Linked DNA regions of Homo sapiens: region 2 is linked to region 1. The links are contacts of gene promoters, found by promoter capture Hi-C in human tissues and cell types (Jung and others, 2019). All regions are on one chromosome and are shown on one strand. Each heading gives the region's core, a stretch centred on a gene start or on the middle of the fragment in contact. The rest is flanking DNA. Distances are from core to core; before and after follow the strand shown. Region 1 holds the start of ITGA2 (integrin subunit alpha 2). Region 2 overlaps ITGA1 (integrin subunit alpha 1).

Evidence for each region. The method cuts DNA at HindIII sites, captures the fragments that hold promoters and counts their contacts. A contact is called where the count stands out against the background at its distance.
Region 2: a contact is called between a fragment that was not itself captured here and the fragment with the promoter of ITGA2 in region 1, in 3 of the 25 tissues and cell types used here (IMR-90 fibroblasts, mesendoderm cells and neural progenitor cells).

Annotation. Positions count from the first base shown.
Region 1 is chr5:52,986,871-52,992,346 of GRCh38, reverse strand. It overlaps ITGA2 (integrin subunit alpha 2), which reads right to left and starts at 2,995. Exons shown (of 30, transcript NM_002203.4): 1 at 2,815-2,995. The coding sequence starts at 2,878. It overlaps ITGA2-AS1 (ITGA2 antisense RNA 1), which reads left to right and starts at 2,061. Exons shown (of 4, transcript NR_186583.1): 1 at 2,061-2,257; 2 at 4,071-4,143. RefSeq lists a silencer at 3,042-3,191 and an enhancer at 3,656-4,855. The HindIII fragment of the contact is 5,063 bases long and covers 300-5,362 here.
Region 2 is chr5:52,945,182-52,950,657 of GRCh38, reverse strand. ITGA1 (integrin subunit alpha 1) reads right to left here. Exons shown (of 29, transcript NM_181501.2): 28 at 3,197-3,313. ITGA2-AS1 (ITGA2 antisense RNA 1) reads left to right here. Exons shown (of 4, transcript NR_186583.1): 3 at 1,751-1,833. Among named protein-coding and RNA genes, the nearest start is that of ITGA2, 41 kb to the left of the region's middle. The HindIII fragment of the contact is 4,453 bases long and covers 469-4,921 here.

The DNA of each region.
Region 1 (5,476 bases), core at 1,746-4,245:
CTGTGCAGGGAATGGGCCCAGAGACAATCTGCAGAATGAAGAGGAGGATTCAGGATGAAACTCTGCAAACACCAACAAGGAAAGAGCCTGTGAAGGAGATGACGGGAGAGCAGCGAGGAAAGGAGGAGAAAAACAGGAAGAGAACAGAAGCCAGAAGTACAGGATGTTTCAGGAGGAAATTAAATATCAAAAGAAATATTTTTTTTACAATAAGAAAAATTAGAATATTTACAGACTGAGGGGAAGTTACATTAGGGAGAGAATTTGAAGACGTGCACTGAAGAGGGATGAGTGCTGGGGCAGGGTTTCAGGGATAGTAAGAAAAGATGTGGTCTAGAACCTGGGTGGAAGGACTATCCTTGACCTGTGAACATACTGGAGAAAATACGTGATGGCCTTCATTTCAAAATTACATTTGCCTTCTGCTAATGGCCTATATTTAGTTTATAGATTATCTAGGCCTCTTATGTTCTCTCTTTTTCATCCTCAGACTGCCCATTTACCATTTTCATGGTATTAAGCACTTAGAAATGAGCACTGAAAGGTGATAAATATAGGACTAAACTATGAGTACATTTTCTTCTTAAGCACCTGTGAAAAGGTTTCTGGAAAGCAAATTTGAATGTAAGTGTTAAAATAAGATTTGAAGGTGATATGTTTTTAAAGTGGTTTGCATGTATGCTAGAGATGATACAAGATGTCTAAACACACATGTGTTTTATACATATTAACAGGTATATATATGTATATACAATTGTATATACATAACACGGCATATTGTATACTCAAGGAACAGGTTTTCTCTTAATTTAAGATCATCATAATGAAGCTCTGTCACATACATAGCTTTTAAATTTGAATTTTTGTATGTGATATGATGCAATTGTACATACTATAATTTTATAACAGTTATGTGTGTGTGTGTGTGTAATGATAGTGAATGAGAAATTTTATACAGATAGGGTAATGCCATACAAAATTTTAGATACTACTGAGCTAGAGATTTCACTTATTCATGTTAACCTGGGATACTCATGGTACCAAAAAACGATGCTGCTTCTCCAGGAACCTCAAGTGATATCACAAATGAGAGAGCTTTCTTATGAGGATCTTAAATTAAGAGAAAACCTGTTCCTTGAGTATACAAATGGCTGGAGTAGGAGGAGGGAATAAATGCACAAAACTTTTGCAGATGTTATTTTCGATCATCTCTGCTTGCTTGCCCTGAGGTGTCCTTATTAACTCCAGGTTAAGTCTCTGTTCCTGACTTCATGCCTTGCAGCGTTACATTCCATTAAAGAATTTCTCACTGCTCTTTACATAACAAGCCTCAACATTTCAAAGATAAGAAAATGATGTTATGTTTCCACAGCTTATTTTAATACTGGGTAATTACAGAGAGATGAAAAGCTTGGGTTTATATTTCTATTAGCTCTAGTTGTATTCCAGAGACTCATTTTCAATGTCAAGTACAACTTTACCTGAAATCCGTAGATTAGGGTTGGTGGCCCCTCAAAACAACTCATCTGGTTCCCGGAGAAAGTATCTGAAGCACCCAATACAGGTGAGACAGAAAACCTAAGATGCCCATTCTCTGCTCGGGCTGGGGACAGTGGTGCTATTTCTCTCTTATCTCTGACCTGGAGAAAATGCCACCAGGTTGACGTGGACTAGGATTCATTCCTCCACAATAAAGAATAGCAAGTGGCTGAATGTCAGTCTCAAAGGAGGACAGCTTAGGAAATATTTATCTTCTTTGTAAAAAAAAAAAAAAAAAACCACACACACACTTTAAAATCAGAGACAACTTTTTTGTTTTGTTTTGATCGCTGTTCAAACTACATTATACAAACGTGTCTCCTTCTCCCTCCAAATAAACTAAAATTCTTAAATTTGACCACACTCTAGCTCTGCCTAATGGTCAGGGAAAAAGTACTCAGGCGATGGTCCCACAAAAGCTCTCCACCCCAGCCTTATTTCCTCCTCTTAGTGTAAAAGAACTCAGGAGGTGGGCGGGCCCCACTGCCACAGCACTACAGTTAGAGCGGCTGCTCCGGCTTATTCTCTCATTGCGGCATCTAGGATCCAGAAGTGAAAAGAACTTTTCCTAGCCTAAGTTTACATTCGTCGAATAGACAATGTTACAACAATAAGAGGAAGGCAGAAGGGAAGGAAGAATTCCCCTCTGCCAAGTATTTAAGTGGCGCTTGGTTTATTCCAAGTCCCCCCGGGAAGAAACACAGCGCTTCGTCCTCAAGTAAGAAATAGAGGCATTATTCACATCCTTGGGTTGAAAAATAAGCATTTTGGGGCTCGCAGGCTTCTGCAAAGCCAGCAAGCACCGCGCTGGGGAGCTGCAGGCCGCCATCAGCAATGGATTCCGGATTTCCCTGGTCTCTGGCAGGCGCGGCACCTGTCTGAGCCAGGGGAAGTTGGGCTGCAGGACTCGCGGTCTCCAGGACACCCGCGGATCCCCACACTGTCCATGCTTGAGTGCGTGCGTGTCTGTCTGTGTGTGTGTGTGTGTGTGTGCGTGTGTGTACCTAAAACAAAGCACTCACTGAGATGACTTTGGAGGGTGCTTAACAGACAGGGCGAGACGCGCCTAATGGGGACGCAAGGCCTGGGATAGCAGGAAGGGAACGAAGAAGTATCTCTTTCCAAGCAGGTCCTGGTGGCTGGGAGCCCGAGTCCACGTGGAATCCGAGGGAACACACGGAGCTCGCTCCCTAGTTCCGCCCAATCCCTCCAGCGAGCCCCAGGAAGCCGCGCGGGTCCCTCCTGCAGCCGATGCAGAGCGAAATCCCCGCTTACCTTGACTGAGCGCTAACACCAGCAGCAGCGGCAGCGGCGCGGCCCCTGTCCGTTCTGGCCCCATCCTGGGTCTGACCGGGGGACCGTAGTTGCGCTGGGTTTGCAGAGGTTTGCAGAGGATACCCTTGGCCGAGGGATACGAGAACCTGCACACTCTAGAAGCTGTCCAGAGGGCTTCTCTCCCCCGCCCGGTGAGAGCAGGGAAAAGTTTCTGGGCAGCTCCTGCAGCGCCGAGGGCCCGCCCCAGCCCGCCCCTCCTGATTCCGCAAACACCGGATCTGCTCCGGCCGCGCCCCGCCCCACCCCGGCCCTGCGGCCCCGCGGGCTGCACCTCGGCTCGTCCACACGCGGGGCACCGCACCTTGGCTCCCGTACAGCGGCCCAGCCCCGGCAGCCTGGAGGCGGTGGGGATGGGGATGGCGCCCTGGCAGGCTTTCCTGCCCTGGACGGGACGGGTGGGCATATCCGACGGGCGAGCGCCCGCCCTGGCACCACTCCGCCCCCGCAGCCTGTCGCCAGCACGCAGGAGATGCCCCAGTCCCCGGGAGAACGTGGCCCCTCCGCAGCCCTTGGCAGCGCCCGGCTCCTGGCAGCGGGTGCCGAGGGCACTAGCCCTAAACCACAGTGCCTAGGGGCTGCGCGGTGCGTCCCTTTCTCTGTTTTTCCTAAGTGGGTGGAGAAAGGGACAAAAATAAGCGCAGAATGACCAGGTTAGAAACTAACTCATCAGGAAAGAAGATCTGCTCACAAGTTATGATTATCCAAGGTGATATTTAAGCAATACCTGCTGCAAGAGCTGTGTGTGTGTGTGTGTGTGTGACAGAGAGACAGAGAGAGAGAAATCATCATTACTTCCTCTCCTCCGAGATAATTAAGAGCTGATTTAATGACTGAGTTTAGGAGATTAACTTCAAGGCCAGAGAAAAGGCTGAGAGCCCATACATGCACTTGTGACTCTCCCTGTCTACATTACACCATGACATAGACTGTGACCATTTTCTTCCATTATTTCAGTCTCACATCTGGAAAGAGAACATTCTATATCCGAGATTTTTAGTTAAAAACCTAAGAAATAGGATATTAATTTTTCTTGTCTGAATCTTATGTTTTATCCAAAAGTTTGGCCACAAATTTCCAGCACATTGCTGAAACCAGAATTCTTCCAGTGACTACTTTTGTGAAGGAACGAACTGTTTTCATAAATCAAGCTTAAGGAGTTATGAGTCTAATAATCATCATTATTGTCATCATTCCAGATCTTCATGGAATGCTACTATGAGCTGAATGGGATGCCTGAGATACTGCCTCTAGGAAGCAAAGTGGCTCAAGGTGGGAAGGACTTAATAATTCATAAAAATCAAGCTCTTCTCTTTACTATAGATAGGGCTGATGTGTCACATTGTTAAAGTATTAAATTGGTATGCATCAGATGTTGCTGCTGATGGCTTATGACTAATACCCTTTGAACCCAAATTATATAGTCCCAGGCTCTTTCCTGTTTTCTTATCAGTCACTTACTGGCTGCACTTACTCACCTTGACAAACACCTGAAGGCATTTTTTTCTGAATTGTCTGGGGTACTCACCTGCTTACTAAAACTCCGGCTATCACCTGAGAGCTCTTAGGTGGCTGCTCACTAACCGGTGACACGATTTTGACGCTCCTTACAGACTTTTTGAAGGAAGTCAGCCAGGTTTCAGGGAGATGAATATCTGTCTGTTTCCTTCTGACTCACTGAAATGTGAGTAAGTGTTTGGAACAGACCTGTGTTTGGGAGGCAGGACACTTCCTTTAATGTGAGACAGGAATTTGTGTTTTATCTCTGGGGGTGGGGGGAAATAACATGCATCCTTCTTGGTTTTTGTTCTCAGAACTGGACAAATTAACATTACACTGTCATGAAGTGCAGAATAAGTCAGGAGCTACGATTTTCCAGAGCCAGGCAAAACTTTTAGAAACAAAGAACAAACTCCTGCCTCACATTAATTTTAAGAGGATAAAGTGTTCCTGAGACAAAGTAGTTTGAGAACCCCTTCCAGGGTGCTCTCCTGCCTAGTTGCAGTTGTGAGGGACACCACATTCAGAGCAGGAAATATGGAAGGTTAAGCTGGGGCTTCTCAAACTCTTTGGTCTCAAGAGCCCTTTACTCAGTAAGTCCTTTAACAAAAATCCTATTATGTGTGAACATAAATAATGTACATTTTATGAAAAATAACTATATTTCTCCAAATGAAAGAATCCGGGAGAAGAGTGGCATTGCTTTACATTTTTGCTAATATTTTAAATATCTGGCTTAAAAACAGACATTTGGATTCTCAGATCTGCTTCTGCATCCAATCTGTTACGGCATGTAGTTTTGGTGAAATTATATTGATTAATCTGGTGTTACACAGATATGGACTTAGAAAAACAGGAGATAATTCTGGATAATCCCCTGATACTACACCAAAACTCAACAAGTGGTAGTTTCTTAAAGTTGCAATGTGGAATCTGAAACCATATCAATGGTTTTTCCTATTCCGTGGCATTAAAATTCATTGATCTGCTGGCCTCTCCGTGTCCCTCTCCCTTTCTCTTCCTGTGAGTGCCCAGTGATGAAGAATACAATGACCACCAGTCCCCATCCTTGTTCTTGCACCATGAGGGCAAATGTCAACACAGT
Region 2 (5,476 bases), core at 1,446-3,945, 41 kb after region 1:
TGGCAAAGAGTGGAGATTAGGAGAAAATAGTTTATAGCTTCAAGATGGACTGGGCCAATCCTAGCCCAAATTTGAAACCAATAGAGTTTGTTTTCAGCCCCAACACTTTCTTTGCAGCACTGGCTTTCATTTTTTCCTTCCTGTGTTTGCTTCATGATCCCTTGTTCAAAACCCTATGGCAAAGGCTCTAATGAGGTGATAACTGTCAGAAAAGTAAGTGCTTAATGAATATAACATGGAATAATTGCTGAATGAATAAATTCATACTAATGTATAAAAGACTAAAAAGTGGTGAGACACCAGTCCCCATCCACACCCACCCAGAACATGTATATTGGATGAAGAATAAAGCTTTAGGATTAATAAATAAATCATCAGTTGAGGAACTTCAGGCATCATTATGACATCAAGTTAGGAGAGAGGAATGTTCTGAGTCTCTCATGGCTCCTGGTGTGCTGGCATCTCCCCCGGCATGTGGTACCACAGTTCAGGACAAGTTTCTCCACCTATTTAAACCTACGTCCCCTACAAGATTCCTCCCATCAATCATGAAGTGTATTAAGCAGCTACTAACACTTTGTCAAGCTTTAATTTTTGCCATGTGTATGATGAAGACAAAGATATAAAGACTGTGTCTTTTGAAAGTGAATCTCTGCTCTAAGAGAAACTTTTGGCCTGTCTCTTACACAGAGACTCAGACTTGGGAGTTCCAATGAACTCCAAACTGGTGGGATTCAGGAAAGGAAGGAAGAAGGGATAGTCCTGAGGTGTCTGATCCAGATCTAGTTAGAATAAAAAAGATGTCTGGGATAAGAGTAGCTCTTCTGAACCTACTGCAACTGAACTCATGCTTCAGGCAGCTTCCAACAGAACTTTAAAGTAGGGGGAAGTGGGATTAGCCTTCTTGATATAATGGAACTACCGAAAGTCTGAATCCAACCAGGGACCCTCATTCCAAAACCAAAGACAGTATTATGTGTTTAAGAGAGTTCATGACTCTCTTGAACAAAACCCAACTCCTGGAGCTCCAGAGTAAAGAGCCCTACCCTATAGCCTGCAGCAGTAGGATATATTGGAAAAAGAAAGAGCTCTGTAGATCATTCCTTGAATCCAGTCATTTACTAGCTAGTAATCATGGGAGAGTCACTTTACCTCCCTTTGCTTTAATGTCCTCAGGTGTAAAATGTAGTTAAAATACTTGGTCGAAAAGATTGTTGCAAGGACACCAGAGTGAATGGAAGCAAGAGAGAACACAGAGTGATAATAGTCAGTGGTTTTGGCACAGAATTCAGATCCTTACTCTGAATCTCACTATGTGTCTTTGGGAAATATACTTAAATTTTATGTTCTTCACTTAAAAGAGGAGGTTCATACGACCTCATAAGGTTGATATGAGTATTAAGTGGGAATGCTTAAAGCAGAAATGTTTAAAATAGCTCCCTGCACATAGTAAGCATTCGATAAGAGCTAGTTTCTTCCCTTCTACCTTAGAATCACAGTTCTGATTGCTGGGCCTCCCAATGAAGTGGCTGAACTATTTCTACCGGGTAAGACAGCCCAAAGTTTGTCAAATGATCTTCTTTTGGGCCTGCAATAATAATAATATTAATAATAACCTAAGAAGCTGTCAGAATGTATCAACACATCATTATCTGGATGAAACAATGAGCTTAGTTTTACATTTATGCTTTTTCAGACTACTGACTGAAAAATAGGTGACTGAAATTTCCTATTTGTTTGTCTGAAACAGAGGTACAAGGCCTGAAAGAACCTATCCAAATATCAGCTCTGGTTTTCCTCTTCTCCTGCCAGCGGTGTTCTAAAACCATAGAGGTAAGTGCAGTGCTGAGAACAGAAGACTATGCTGAAAAAAATCAACAGTAACACTCTCTATTAGAGGTGCATAGAAATGAAGAAACCACTTCCTATATTTCAAGTACAACCTTGACACCAATAAGCCAGGCCTTGGGTACCACAGTGTGGCAAAGCTAGGTATTACAGAGAGAACACTGATCCCTTATAAAGTAGAAGGAAGAGCTGGACATTGGCTATAGTGGAGAATTTTGTTTGGGGAACTTTGCTAGAGAAAAGCCATGGATTCTATTTACTGAATTAAATGCCACTGACCTACATCTGGCTTTGTTCACCATCTCCTCTGAGACTAAGCCCCTCAAAAGAGGAAGTGAGTCATAGGAGAGTAAGAAAGGATAGGAACAGTTGGTATTTCAGTGGGAGAGAAACTTGCTATTTAAACTATTTGATTAAATAATTATGTTGCTCAGGTAATAGAACAATTAATATGTAGCCACAACCTATATTTTTAACATAATTTAACTATTTAACAAAACAATAGGTAAAATCTAGGGGGATATTATGCTAGAATAAATGCTTATTTGATATTTAATTGAAAAAACATTCAACTCTGTATGGGATGTTATTCTCTATTCAACTTATCCCAAAAGCTGTCATCTCAATTCTACTTAATGTGAAAATTATACAGCTGCTAAGAGTTTTAAAAATCATGTCTATTTCAGCCTAAGCAAAACATTACATAAATATCCAGAGTTACTTGACACAAAATAGGTGGTTACTCACATTTACCACAGAATTTGAAATAGGAGTCTGTGAAACTTTAAGATCTCCCCTACATCAGCTGATCCCTTATCCTCCACTCAGGCACACAATTTATTACATAAAATGTGCCATATATATTTAAACATTAAAGAATTATTTGATATTTAAGACACATGGAGATGTGATTAAAACAAGGCTTATTTTAACCTTGAATCTACTGCTTATATATCCTTAAATTGACATAGGAATTCATTTTTTCTTTCTCTATAAAAGACAGTTTTCATTGTTCTCTGTTTATAAAAGAAATACATACTTATTATAAAATTTTAATTGTTACACATGTGAAAGTCCCCTATCATACTAAACTCTAGAAAGATACTTTTGTGAATTTTTGACTATTTCTAACTTAAAATAAGTTTTTTTTCCTTTACAAAAATTGGGTCAAGTTGTGTGCAGTGTTTGAAATACGCATTTTTCTTTTTTCTTTCCCTTAGTCATCATTTCAACGTTTGTTTCATTGCTGTAATAATACTATATTACATAGTCTGAATATATCAGAGCTTATTTCTCCAGTTTGCTGTTGATGATTGAAGTAGAGAGTCAAAGGAATTTTGGTGTTTACCTTCCACAGTGCTAAAATGAGCAGCATTAACAGCAACAATCCGGCAAAAGCACTCAGCAGGATGACCCATAATGGCACTCTGCCCGGTAGCCCATCTTTGGATATTTGAATAGCAAGCTGAAAATTATTAAACAAGATTGTTAACATAATAAACACCTATTAGAACTCCTGGAACATTGAGTTCTTGCAGGCTACAATTCTCTACCAGTGCATTAATCTCGTTACTATATAATGAGAAAACATTAGATTTACATTAGAAAATGCTCTTCATCTAGTCTAAATCTCTAACTATGTCAAATTTATTATTACCAAAAGGTATTTATAATATTATCCTTCTGAAATTTATACATAAAGGGTTAAATGTCAATGGATTGGAATGCTCAAGGGGAGGAGTGAATTTCTGTTTAACTCAGGGAGAACCAAAGTATTATGTGTGTTAAAGATTAATTAGTACACTACTGTATTATCACAATAGCATTAGTTTAGATTGGAATGTCGCAGTTTGTTGTCATAAGAACCTGAGAAAGTCTCCTTATTTTATTTCTAGTGTGCATAATTTTTTGTTTATAAATTGAAAGTATAATGCATACATGTCAAGTGTATGGGTAAGTGAATGTTTGCATATGTATTCACTCCCAGTGTGCTCTTCATTATACCACAATGTTTCTTCTACTTGACTTATCACTGGGTCCACATGTATAAATCAGGTTTTAACTGAAGCAAAGCTGTAAAATGGACCGCTTTTAGTGTTCCAGCTACTCAAGCTCTCTCAGGGTGGCACTCAAACCTCAATGAAACCTATCTGCTCTGTGTCTCATCCCTGGGGGATTTGAAAAAAATTAATTTAGGGTAGATATCAATGGCTAGTAATAGTTCAAGCCCTGTATTTGCCTTTAACAGTAACACCTCAATTTCTTTACCTAGAGGGAAGATTAGGGTAGAAAAAGAAACTAACAGGGGAGAGATTTGTATATGCATGATACTAATCAAAACCTCTCAAATCACTCCAGGTAGGTGACAGAGCTGGCAAGAATGTAGACATATACAGCATCAGACCATTATGACAGTTTCTTAAAACAAAACAAAACAAAACACAGATGGGGTTTCACTATTTTGCCCAGGCTGATCTCAAACTCCTGGGCTAAAGTGATCCTTCCATCTCAGTCTCCCGAGTAGGCTGGGATGACAGACATGAGCCACTAAGCCCAGCAAGGCAGATTTTAAACATATGTAAAACAATTCCCTGAACTTACAGATATGGAAACCGGAATCTAGATAAGATCAGTGACTTTCCTCAGATCACACAATTACAAAATGATCACTTTTAGTAATTTTATCAATATAGATATAATTTTTCCTTTAGGATGAATGTAGAATAAATATTTCCAGGGGAATTTTTAACTAATATTTAGGGAAAATAAAACTCATTATAAAATTTTAACACATAAATTTAGGAATCATATGTACTTTTCCAACATAAACCATACTCAAATTTTTTAGGTTTTAGTGAAATGTTGGCTATTCTATGTAAGGAACAACTTTGCATTTTGCATTGCTTATGCTAAGCGCTCTTTATGACATAAGTAAACATTATATGCATGTATTTTCCTTTTTCTTGAAAAGCGTATACTTATCAGAAGTCATTGATATTGGAAAAATTTGAAATAAGCAATTTAAAAAGAACATCTGAAAGTTAGGGAGCTTCCAAATTGAATTTTATGATTCACATGGTGCTGTTATCCACATGGGATATTTAAAGTCTCCCATGAGAAGGGGGGAGATCATGCTGAAGTGCCTGCATGTGTAACAAGTACTTATTTTATTTTATTTTTTTAGAGATGGGGTCTTACTCCGTCACCTTGGCTTATTAATTTATAAAAAGGACAAGAGTTAAAAACTCAAACCTTTCTATTTTTACTGAGGACTCAAGTCTGAATTTGTATTAGGAAATACCATCACTTTTTTGTTTCAAATTTCTCAATGAAATTTGAAAGAAAACTTTAAAAAATGTACATGTTTTCCTGTACAGTATAAAGGCACTTTTTATAAAGAAGTTGTTTTTTGCGGCTGCTCTTCAGATATCAGCTGCATTTTATAATGTCAGCTTTTAAGGAGGAAAGTTACAACTGCATCATTTGTTATCAAAGTGAAAGTAAAAACATCCATTTACCGTGATAGTTATAAGTGATAAAGTCAAATGCGGCATGTGAATTGTAAATATCATGATTTTCCCAGTGTCTTACAAGGATGAATAAGACTAAAATCACATTTGAAGCTAAT